Linked DNA regions of Homo sapiens: all the other regions are linked to region 3. The links are contacts of gene promoters, found by promoter capture Hi-C in blood cells and fetal thymus (Javierre and others, 2016). All regions are on one chromosome and are shown on one strand. The core of a region is centred on a gene start or on the middle of the fragment in contact, and the rest is flanking DNA. Distances in the headings are between cores, read along the strand shown. Region 1 holds the start of IDI1 (isopentenyl-diphosphate delta isomerase 1). Region 2 holds the start of CREM (cAMP responsive element modulator). Region 3 holds the start of NSUN6 (NOP2/Sun RNA methyltransferase 6). Region 4 overlaps LOC105376392 (a long non-coding RNA gene).

Region 1 (3,074 bases), core at 408-2,907, about 18 Mb before region 3:
TGTCTACACCACACAGCCCAGCTGCTCCACTGTCTACTGTCTACACCACACAGCCCAGCTGCTCCACTGTCTACACCACACAGCCCAGCTGCTCCACTGTCTGGTCCTTTGTCTACACCACACAGCCCAGCTGCTCCACTGTCTACACCACACAGCCCAGCTGCTCCACCGTCTGTCTACACCACACAGCCCAGCTGCTCCACTGTCTAGGTCTGCGTCAGCGCACTCTGCTTCCACAATGATGAAAGTACCTAACAATGAACTTCTCCAAAGTATCCCTGTTAAGTGATGCGGGCCGAACGTTAAATTATCATCTGTAGATGATCTCTTATAGTATCTAAAACATGTAAATCCTACATAAATAGTTGTGCTGTATTGTTTACAGAATAAGTCTGTATATGTTCAGTACAGATGAAATTTTTTTCCAAATATTTTATAATGTGCAGTTGGTTAAATCCATGGATATGGACCCCAAGGATACAGTAGGCCAACTGTATATTAGGTGATCACTAAGATAGGTTTCGTTACTACATAATTACTAGACTTTTTGACATGACTTTTTTTCCGGGGGGATGGGGCTGGGTCTTGCTATGTCTGTCGCCCAAGCTGGAGTGCAGTGGCGCGATCTCGGCTCACTGCAGCCTTCGACTCCGCCTCCCAAAGTGCTGGGATTAAAGGCGTGCACCACCGCCCAGCTGTAATGACAATTGCTCTTTCAGGATTTTCAGAATTCAGATTTTAAAGCTAAGCTGCATAATCACAAGATAAAATGAATACGTCTATTTATGCGTTTAAAGAATACCATGTAGTAGACGCGGGAACACATCATCCAACCCAAGAAAAAGGTCTAGTTCCATCTATGCGATGCTCCCCATCTCTTCTCCTGCTCCATTCCCAGGAGAAGCGCCTTGAGTGTGTTGCTGTCACCCTCTTGCACGGACGCAGGTGTATGCACCCGCGTCACACGCGTGGACTCGGCACGGGGAGGCCGGTGTCGTCACGCTCGTGTTTCTGACGATGCTGTCTACGCTTGTTTCTGAATTCTCTAAGGGGAGACTCGCAACTCTTAGTCTCCTGCGACTCGGTTTCCAGTTCCACGAGTTCCTAAACCTCAGGTGACTGTGCGCAGACGACGATCTTTTCCGCTGACAAAGAATGGCAACGTCTCTGACGCCCCGACTCACGCCTCCGCCTTCCACGGGGCGCGGGCGCCCACCACAGCCCGGGAAGGCCCGGCCTCCCTCCAGTTCGGGAGACCAACGCCGCCACCCCCAGCTGTCCAGGCCTCCGCGCCGAGACCTCACGGGTGGCTCAGACCTCGGGCCTCCTCCCCGCCCCGTCCCGCAGCTCCCCGATGCCGCCCTGCCCCTGTCTCCCGAACTCCGCCGCCCGTCCACAGTACCTGATCAGCCTCCGGCCACAGACAACCGCCGGTCCCGGATGGCGCCCGCTTTGAGCACAGTCTGCGGCGCGCACCGCCCACTGGCCCCGCCCCCGGGCCGCGCAGCCAATCGCTCGCGCCAGCGCCAGTCCACGCCACATCGCCCGGCCAATTGGCGCCCGTACGCGCTTGACGACACAATCTCGCCAAGCTTCGCCTGGTGGTGCCACCTCCCTGGCCTGTGACAACGGCAGACGCGCGAAGCACCGGGAACCTGAGCCGTGACCGCGGGCTCTGGCGCCTTTAAGGGGGTCAACACGCCCCACCCCCAGTTCCGCAGAGGCAGCGTCCCGCGACTGGGCGGTGCCCGAGACCACAGACGCCGCCAGCCAATCACGCTTTCGATCCTGCCGTGCGAGCCCGAGGCGCTGCGAACGGTGCCTAACGTCAGACGTCTCGAGGCTCGCGTTCCATGGAGGAAGCCCTCCCAATCCGAAAGCGCCCGGGCGCCAAGCCCTGCAGCCGGAAGCTCGGCGTCCCATGGGAGCGACCTCCGCATGGCTGGACCAATGGAAACGGAGGAAAGGCGGGACGTCACTGCTGACTGGCTGGTTGGGCACTCCCCCCCCTCCCCCCCCCCGAGTTCCGCCGCTGGGACTACAGCGTTTGGCTGCACGGGGAGTTCTCGTATGTCTAGAACGATGGCCTTTCTGCGGTGTCTGCGACCGGGACCAAGGCGGAGCAAAGTCGCCGGGGGTGTGGGGTGTTCCACGCTATGTTGGGAGTGTTCGCTTTCGAGGTACATGACTACGTTCTAAATTTTTTTTTTTTGAGACAGTTTCATTCTTGTTGCCCAGGCTTGAGTGCAATGGTGCAGTCTCCGCTCACAGCAACCTCCGCCGCCCGGGTTCAGGCAATTGTCCCGTCTCAGCCTCCCAAGTAGCTGGAATTACAGGCATGCGCCACCACGCCCGGCTTATTTCGTATTTTTAGTAGAGACGGGTTTCCGCATGTTGGTCAGGCTGGTCTGGAACTCCTGACCTCAAGTGATCCACCTGGCTCAGCTTACCGAAGTGCTGAGATTCCGGGTGTGAGCCACCGCGCCTAGCCCTCTAAACTTTTAAATAATCGTGAAATGTATGCGCAGCTGAAGCGAATTCAGCTATTTCCTCTACCTTTTGTGTGGAATTTAAAATACTGAACTTGTGAGATGAACCTGGTGGGCACCAGTTCTCAAACTTCTTGGTCACAGGACGCTTGCACTCTCTTAAAATGTACTGAGGACACCTAAAAGCTTTTGCTCACTGTTGTTTACTACTGCTATTTACTAACATAGAAATTAAACATATTAAAATATTCACTTAAAAAACACACGACACTAACATAAGTTATATTTTTATTAAAAATCTTTTCCAGACAAAAAACAGACTTTGATTTTGTTTTATGTGTTGACAGATCTCTTTCATGTCTGGCTTCACACAGATAAGAAAATCTGGCCTCCCGCATGCGCAGCAAGTCCTCACTGCTGTCAGTGCGTTCTTGGGAATCAGGACTTTTAAGTGAAACAACGTATAGCAAAACCAATTTTACCAGAGGCTAAAAAATAAGGATTAAGTTCCTAAAGCATACTTCTGGCCAAGGAAAAAAAAAATCACTAAGCTTCTAAAGGCCAAAGTATTCTAATATTAAACAT
Region 2 (2,846 bases), core at 134-2,633, about 16 Mb after region 3:
GATACATTCCCTTTGACCTACGAAAATTAGATTTGAACAAAGGTTCAGATTGGATTTAGATTAAGTCCTGCTCAGTGAAAATTATGAAAACACTCTGACACTACAGTAACTGATATGAAATAATAAATCCTCACTTAACATTGTCAATAGCTTCTTAGAAACTGGTTTTCAGTGAAACAACGTACAATGAAACCGATTTTTGTTATCATCAATATTATAACGAAATGAAAACAACACTGAATGAAAATTTTTTTGTGGACCTGCTGTAAGTTGTTTGGCTTAAAGCCATGATTTCTAAGAACCTATCGTTAAGTGAGGACCTACTGTACTCTATAACCATGCTGCTATTCTTTATTCCTGATATCCCATTACTTTTTTTATTTTTGAGATGGAGCCTCGCTCTGTCACCCAGACTGGAGTGCAGTGGAACGATCTCAGCTCACTGCAGCCTTGACCTCCCAGGTTCAAGCGATTCTCCTGCCTCAGCCTCCCAACTAGCTGGGACTACAGGCGTCTGCCACCACTCCTAGCTAATTTTTGTATTTTTAGTAGAGATGGGGTTTCACCATGTTGGCCAGGCTGCTCCTGACCTCAGGTGATCTGCCCATGTCTGCCTCCCAAAATGCTGGGATTACAGGCGTGAGCCCCCGGCCGACCTTTCTAATCTAAAAAAAAAAAAAGAGATGAAGTCTCACTGTGTTCCCTAGGCTGGTCTCCTGGGCTCAAGCGATCCTCCCACCTTGGCCTCCCGAAGTGTTGGGATTACAGGCCCGAGCCAGCGGGCCCAGCATGCGGACCATTTCCAGTCAAATACTGGGATAAACTGCAATAAATGACCCTAAGAAGCAGGTGAATTGTCTCAGGAGCTCAAGCTTCTTTTGGAGAAGGACTCAACCAGCTGTGACTGGCTGTGAATATGGAGGAAAAGGGCCACTAGTCAAGGTATGTAGATAGCTTTTAGAAGTCAGAAGAAGCACGCCTGCAGTCCCAGCTACTCAGGAGGCTGAGGCCGGAGGATCGCTTGAGCCTGGGGAGATAGAGGTTGCAGAGAGCCGAGACCACGCCACTGCAGCCCAGCCTGGACAGAGGTGAGACGCTCGCGGACCTTAGCTTGGGGTTGGCGGCGTTAGGAAGAAACCGACCTCGAGACCCTGAAGACCTGACAACAGCCGTTACTCTGGCTGACAAGTCATTGGATTTCTGGCGCACGCGCGGCGCGGCACGGGCAGCTTCCGGTTTCCAGCCTTGCCCCCGCCCCTACCTTCCGCCCCACCTCCAGGCTAGTTCCTCCTCTTGGCCCCGCCCCCTGACCTTCCTTCTCCCTATCCCTAGGCCCCGCCCCCTGACCCGCACCTTCCCGCCGCCCCTCCCCGGTTCCATTTCATTGTTGGATTGTGGCGCTTCACTCCTGCTGGCGGCCGGCAGGGGGCGGAGTTCGAGCCTGGATTTTTTTCCTCGGGGCCTCCCCCGGGAGGCCGTCCCGGCGTGGGGGAGGGGAGGACGGGGCGGGAGGACGCGGTTCGGTCGGCTGCAGCGCTACTTTTGGTCCGGGGTCGGCAGGGAGGCCGCGGCTACCGCATCACAGCTGACGTGAGGACTACGTGGGGCCGCTGCCGGCTCCGGGTTGCTGGGCGGCGGCGCCGCTGCTGAGCGGCGGTCGGGCTCGCCGTCTCCACCTCCTCGCGTCCGTAATCAGTGACGAGGTCCGCTACGTAAATCCCTTTGCGGCGGGTAAGTGGTGCGTCGGCTCCGGCCCCGAGACCCAGCAGCGGGCGACGCGGCGCAGGAGGTGGAGGTGGAGGCAGGAGGCGGAGCGGAGCCGGGTGCGGTGGAGCAGCAGAGGCCGAGCGGAGCCGTGGGCGGCGGGCCGGGACCCCGGGGCCGGGCCAAGGACTGGCGGGGCAGCCGCGAGTTCACCTGACGCGGCCCCTCGCTCGGCGCCCCCGAGGCCGCCGGCTCGCCGCCCCACGCCCGCTTCGTGCGCTCAGCTGCCCCGGGACCCGCCTGCCTCCTCGCGAACTTGGGACGAGTTGGAAAATCCTCCCTGAGAGAGCCGTGCGGCTCAGGGGAGCGGTTTAACTCGGAAAAGGAAAAGGAATCCAGAAGTAAGGACCTCGGATTTGAGTGCCCCCAGCGCCTCTGCCCCACTTTACGAGCGCAGTTTAGACGAAAGCGGACGCAGCCCGTTTTCCCCCAAAACCTGGGCCGGAGGGCCTCGCAGCTGAGTCATTCGGTCCCGGGCGCGGGCAGTCTCCGGAGTGGGAAGGGCAGAGCCGCGACCGCTCTCGGAAGGCGCATTTTCCCTTCTGCCTGAGTCTTGCCTTTTTAGGGCCATCTGGTAAGGTTTCCAGAGCCTGTTGAATCTGGGGAATAAACACATTATTAAACATACTTTTTTTTTTTGAGACGGAGTCTTGCTGTTACCCAGGCTGGAATGCAGGGGCATGATCTCGGCTCACTGCAGCCTCTGCCTCCTGGGTTCAAGCGATTCTCTTGCCTCAGCCTCCCGAGTAGCTGGGATTACAGGCATGCGCCACCACGCCTGCTAATTTTTGTATTTTTAGTAGAGATGGGGTTTTACCATGTTGGTCAGGCTGGTCTCGAACTCCTGACCTTCCACCCACCTCGGCCTCCCAAAGTGCTGGGATTACAGGCGTGAGCCGCCGCGCCTGGCCTCAGCATGTTTCTTGATCCTGTTGCGTTTTATTTGTATATCAGATACCTGAGTTTGAAATCACTTAGGGGTTTCCTGCATGCTGCTCAGTGAAGCAGCGGTGAGTTTGTAATCACATTTTAAGAAATTGGGACTTACAGGGCCAGTCTCAAAGTGTCACTGAAATTGAAAG
Region 3 (2,906 bases), core at 301-2,800:
ACAAAGTTGCTTAGAGGCAACATGGTAAAGTGGTAGAGAGGACAGGCTTTGCAATAAAAGACAATCAACATTTACTGAGGACTTCTGTGGCAGGCACTGCCAATTGCAAACAAAATTAACATTTTTTGAAGACTTACATGCCAAAACAATGCAAGTTGTTTTCATTTACGTTTAATATCCTAAAACAACCTGGTAAAATATTTTTAACTTGACTAAAAAATTAAAGATTTGAAAAAAAACAAAGTTGCTTAGAGGCAGCATGGTAAAATGGAATAGACAACAGGCTTTGCAATCAAAGATAATCAACATTTACTGAGGACTTTAGCAAATAAAATTAACATTTTTTGAGGACTTACATGCCAAAACAATGCTAGTTGTATTCACTTACGTTTAATATCCTAAAACAACCTGGCAAGATATTTTTAACCATTCTCAATTTTTCACAGAAGAGAAAAATCTAGGTTAAGCCACGTAATTTACAAAGCACTAGAATGCAAATCATGTGCCTGAGATTCAAAAGCTGTACCTTTGTTCATTACACCTGAACTCTTTCCCTCCAGATTTCAATAGTTACTTGATAGCTGTGTCAACTTGGATCAGTTACACAATTCCTTGAGCAGTTTTCTGCTCAAGTCTATTAAAAGAGGAAAAACCTCTAAGAAAAAAAAGATTGTGAAGATTAAAGATGCAAATCTCCTAGCACAACTGCTGGCATTTAAGAGGCACTCAACAAATTACAGAAACCTTTTCACCTGAGTGCCAGAGCCAGCGCTCTTTTAAAATTCGATTCGAGTTCTTGAAGACAGGGACCTTTTCTTGTTCATCCTTGTAACCCTTTGTGCCATGCCTGACAGGCACATGCCTTTTTTCCCTTCTTTTCCACTCCTAAATGTTAAAACATATACCTTATTCACTTCGTATCTCAGTAAGCTTTAATACCTGTAGAAACATATTGGTATTTTTACACTTGATAGACAAGTAGTAAGGAACGACGGCTGTCAAGATTTCCCTTTATACTTATTTCTATTTCTCTCGAGTGTGCGAATATTTGAGTTTTTGCAAAATATCAACTAACATCTTTACTTGACCTACCTCCTTATTCATAAAGCCTTCCTTAAGATAGTTTTCAACCTCAGGTCTCAAAGATATCTTAGGGAAAATAGACATTTTTCCTGTTGTTTAGTTCTCCACCAAGAGAAATGCTGGAAAACGGTGTTTTGTTTTTTTTTTTCTTTCCGAATTAATAGTGACGAGTGTCTTGACACCAGATGCTGAGGAAAATCTTGCCGATCACGCTGAGTTAATTTCGGAAATGCAGAGGTACACGCTTTCTCAAGCCTAGCCGATTAGAAGGGGCTGCCGGGCTTCCACCACACCTCATCGAGGCAATGTTTTCTGGTAGAGATGCTCATGGAAATCACTGAGCCAATGCCACTCACGTTGCAAAGAACCAAAAAAAGAAAAAAATGCTTAGTAACTGAATCCGTGGTGAAACGGACGCAGATCAGTAAGCCAGGCTGACAGCAGCTCGGTCCCTTTATCTTTTCTATCAATTTCCAAACACGCGCCCCCTATTTCTCGGCGGAAAGTCGCTTCCGGCTTACGTCACGTCCGGCGCCTGCGGCCCACCCCTCCCTTTCCGGTCCCCCAATCCACAGCCGCAAGTTTCCCCAACACTGCGTTACGCTACGCCACGCCCCCGGAGGTTCCTAACCCTGCGTGAGGCTCTTTCACCTGCCTCAGGTTAAGTAGGCAGACCCCGCGGGCGGGATGGTCAAAGATATTTAGTTCCCGGTACCGGAGGGCTAGGTGCCAGGGGCAATGGGGAAACAGCCAAATGGCGTGGGTTGAGTGGAAGATGTTGCTGGACTGAAAAAAGGCACAGCCCAGTTGCTGTCCTGCCAGATGTCCTCCAGTTAGAGGATGAGGCCAGAATTTGGGCGCATCAGCCACCGTTTGATTTCATGACATGATTTTACCTCTCTCAGGCATACAGATCTGACTTCAGTTGTGAAGTTCATAGGGTTCATATTTTTGAAAGTTGGGCTAATGGTCTGTTAATATCCAATGCTCAGGTAAAACTTAAAACCCACAGACAGTGTTTACAGTTAGTTATAAGGCTAACTGCTACTTGTATCATAGTTGACATATTCTTTAGAGTTTGGAAGACCCTCGCCATTATTTTTTTTTCTTTTTTTTCATCATAAGCAGACAAGGATATAGATTCAAAGAACGAGGATATCTAACCAAACTCACTGAGTCATTTTATAACTGTACAGGAAAGTCAAAATAATTCTATCACCTTGACATATGTTTTTTGCAGCACACCATGGTAATTTACACATAAGTATAGGAAAGGGTTTTTTATTGTTTTTTTCTCTTTAATTTTCACACCGAATTATACACACAGACACACACACATAGAACAGGTACTTTCCATGACACACCAACTCTTTACCAGAAAGAGTAGAAAATAATGAATGACCATTATACCACACAACAACCTGCAAGTTGTTTATCATTTTCTCTGCTCTTTTTTTTTTTTTTTTTTTGAGTCTCTGTCGCCCAGACTGGAGTGGAATGGTGGGATCTCGACTCACTGCAACCTCCACCTCCTGGTTCAAGAGATTCTCCTGCCTTGGCCTCCCGAGTAGCTAAAATTACAGGCATGTGCCACCAGGCCCAGCTAATCTTTGTAATTTTAATAGAGACGGGGTTTCACCATGCTGGCCAGGCTGGTCTCAAACTCCTGACTTCAACTGATCTGACTCTCTAGCCTCCCAAAGTGCTGGGATTACAGGCGTGAGCCACCACGCCCAGCCCATTTTCTCTGTTTTAAAGAGTAAATCAAGGTTCCTAGGGTTGAAACAACTCTCCATGTTCTCACAAATAAAAAGCCAGGATAA
Region 4 (2,852 bases), core at 244-2,743, about 11 Mb before region 3:
ACAGCTATATTCGTGGTAATGAATAAAAAGGTTCAGTGAACTGACCAGAGCTTCAAAGTCATTTTCTAACTCCCCTCAAAGTTTTCAGGAGCCACTTCTGAAGGGGTTGGTGGCTGAGACTAGGAGAAAGAAACAGCTCACAACTGAGGAATCAGATGGAGGTGTAGTGTGAACCAGTACAAGATACCTTTTGGGAATGTTAGCAACGAACCACGTGCCTCTGGAGGCTGTGTGTATGTGTGTGTGTGTGTGTGCACGCCACTATACCTGGCTAATTTAAAAAAAAATTTTTTTTTTAGAGATGGGGTCTTGCTATTTTGCCCAGTCTGGTCTTGAACTCCTGGGCTCAAGTGATCCTCCTTAGCCCTGCAAAGTGCTGGAATTACAGGTGTGAGCCACCATGCCCATCCTGTTTTGTATTTTGCTTCTAAGCTTGGCTTGACCCACCTCCAGTTTCTAGGAGAGCAGAACACATTTGTGAGGGTGATTTGAGTGTCCTAGACATCATGGAAGGAGGAAAAGCAGGAATTTGAAATCAGTCAACATAAGTAAGAATAATCTGTGTCTGAACTGGAATACTAGCTCAGCCCTTAACAGCTGTGACCTTGGGCAAGTTACTTAATCTTTCAGTTTTATGATCTATAAGATGGAGATTAAAAGATTGTTAGGATTAAATGAGCTAATATTTTAAAATATCGAGAATCTGACAGGGAGTAAGTGCTATATTCTTGGTTAAATGTCTGCTCTATGTAAAATTAATCATCAGCTCCCTGTAGCCTTTAGTGGTGCTCTTCTGTGTACTGGCACTCTGACTCTCTGAGGATACAATAACAAAACGCCTCCTTGCAGGAGCTTACAGTCTGGAGGGAACACAAGCAAATGACAGAATGTGGTAAGTTACAATTGGTGAGCCACAAGAGGGACAGTGACTCAATTTGGGGACAGATGAAGGGGACTGAGAAGGCCGTCCAGCTTGGAGGAAGGGAGGTCTAAACAGTCCTCAAGGACCAGTGACCAACAGTAGAAATTAAACTACTAGAGCTAACTGGTGGGGAGGGAAGGCATTTCAGGCCAAGGAAGCAGAAAAAGCAAAGACCAAAATCTGTTCAAATGCACATTCTGAAAACTGCTAATACAGAGAACGAGAAAGGCAAGATAAATCTGGAAAGGTGAGTGTACCATGCTGTGTGGTTTAGACATGTAGGAAGGAATCAAAGAGTAAGCTTGAAATTTTCCCCCAACTTCTGTCCTCTCCTTTTGCTAAGTGGCATAACACAGTGGAATTACAGTGATAAATGACCACTGGTAAGGTTTATTACATAATTCAAACTGCTTTTTTTTTTGAGATGAGGTCTGGCTCTTATCGCCCAGGCTGGAGTGCAGTGGCAGGATCTTGACTTACTGCAAACTTCACCTCCTGGGCTCAAGCCATCCTCCCACCTCAGCCTCCCAAGTAACTGGGACTACACCATGCCTGGCTGATTTTTGTATTTTTAGTAGAGACAGGGTTTTGCCATGTTGCCCAGGCTGGTCTCGAACTCCTGGCCTCAGTGATCTGCCTGGCTCGGCCTCCTGAAGTGCTGGGATTACAGGAGTGAGCCACTGCTCCTGGCTATCCTATTTTCTGCAAACACCTACACAGTACCTAAAGGGCTAGGTCTGTTAATTTTAATATTCTAGGATTGAGTTTCCATCATTACAACTGTTGTCTATAATGTGCCCTTTAGGAAACTGTTTCTCTGTGTGCTTTAATATAGAATAGTTGAAGCTTTCAGAAATTTTATTATCATTATTCAAAACTCTCTAAATGAAGCTTAAGAACTGTGCAGTCACTGAGCTCCTGGCACCAACTGAAGAAAAAGTGCTGCCGTTGGCTGAAGTTGGGCTCACTGGTCCTCAACTGTAACCCTCGTCAGCATTGACCGCTACGCCCCAGTACTCGCCTTTCCCACATTGCTCTTGGTTCTTTTCCTTGTCCACCAAGACAGAATGATAAGGATCAGGCCTCTTGGATGAGTCTGAGCTCTGATCTCAGGAAGAAATTTCGTTCTACAGATCTCATGCCCCGCTAAGCTGTGTGCAGTCTCACTGCTAAAGAAGCAGCTGCTCTCCATTTCTGCCACTCCTGCTCTTGAACAGGTTCCTGATTCCTGGCCTCCACTGTTCACTTCTAGTTACTCTCTTCAAAGAGTGGCTTCACTGAGACATCATCCACATGCCATGAAATTCACCCTTCTAAATTCTACCACTCAGTGGTTTTTCATATATTCAGAGTTGTGCTCTAATCCACTCTCTATATCATTGCAAGATGAATTGTGCTAAAAGGCATTACTGAAATATGACTAACTGCTAGGTACTATTTACTAGTGAATGAGACGAACACAGATCCTGCCTCTACCCCCGCAAAGTATACAGCAAAGAATGGAATGATTTTAGTTTCGGACATCCCTCAAACATTAATTACATTTGAGTGATATATTGGACATCCAAGCAGACATTAGTCATTAGATGCAGTTAGCTACGCTAGTATAGCACTCAGGAACAATCCAAGATAAAGTGTTATATTAAGGAGTCATCTTTACACAGCTAATGATGAAATCACTGAGGTGAATCCTATGAAAAGAGAACACTGTAAAAGCAGACAAAAGCTGCCAGGCGTAGTGGCTCATGCCTGTAATCCCAGCAGTTTGGGAGGCCGAGGTGGGCAAATTGCTTGAGCCCAGCGGTTTGAGACTAGCCTCGGCCACATAGCAAAACCCATCTCTACAAAAAAGACAAAAATGAGCCAGGCATGGTGACATGTGCCTGTGGTCCCAGCTACTCAGGAGCCTGAGGTAGAAAGATTGCTTGAA

The links. Contacts are between HindIII fragments. The CHiCAGO score rates a contact against its expected background, and 5 or more counts as called.
Region 1: the fragment with the promoter of IDI1 here is called in contact with the fragment with the promoter of NSUN6 in region 3 in 1 of 17 cell types (fetal thymus); the score reaches 5.8 in fetal thymus.
Region 2: the fragment with the promoter of CREM here is called in contact with the fragment with the promoter of NSUN6 in region 3 in 3 of 17 cell types (naive B cells, activated CD4 T cells and total CD4 T cells); the score reaches 6.8 in naive B cells.
Region 4: a fragment that was not itself captured here is called in contact with the fragment with the promoter of NSUN6 in region 3 in 1 of 17 cell types (total B cells); the score reaches 5.7 in total B cells.

Annotation. Positions count from the first base shown.
Region 1 is chr10:1,047,462-1,050,535 of GRCh38, forward strand. IDI1 (isopentenyl-diphosphate delta isomerase 1) reads right to left here and starts at 1,658. Exons shown (of 5, transcript NM_004508.4): 1 at 1,403-1,658. The coding sequence starts at 1,542. RefSeq lists enhancers at 905-1,435, 1,436-1,965, 1,657-1,706, 1,966-2,495, 2,167-2,306 and silencers at 1,247-1,336, 1,347-1,566. The HindIII fragment of the contact is 1,083 bases long and covers 1,591-2,673 here.
Region 2 is chr10:35,125,463-35,128,308 of GRCh38, forward strand. It overlaps CREM (cAMP responsive element modulator), which reads left to right and starts at 1,384. Exons shown (of 8, transcript NM_183011.2): 1 at 1,384-1,731. It also overlaps a transcript of CUL2 not described here. RefSeq lists silencers at 1,272-1,791, 1,852-1,991 and an enhancer at 2,352-2,421. The HindIII fragment of the contact is 8,974 bases long and covers 871-2,846 here.
Region 3 is chr10:18,650,037-18,652,942 of GRCh38, forward strand. It overlaps NSUN6 (NOP2/Sun RNA methyltransferase 6), which reads right to left and starts at 1,551. Exons shown (of 11, transcript NM_182543.5): 1 at 1,093-1,551. The coding sequence starts at 1,167. RefSeq lists an enhancer at 1,691-1,790. The HindIII fragment of the contact is 3,002 bases long and covers 929-2,906 here.
Region 4 is chr10:7,808,713-7,811,564 of GRCh38, forward strand. The region is part of intron 1 of LOC105376392 (a long non-coding RNA gene); the gene reads right to left. Among named protein-coding and RNA genes, the nearest start is that of TAF3, 8.4 kb to the right of the region's middle. The HindIII fragment of the contact is 545 bases long and covers 1,222-1,766 here.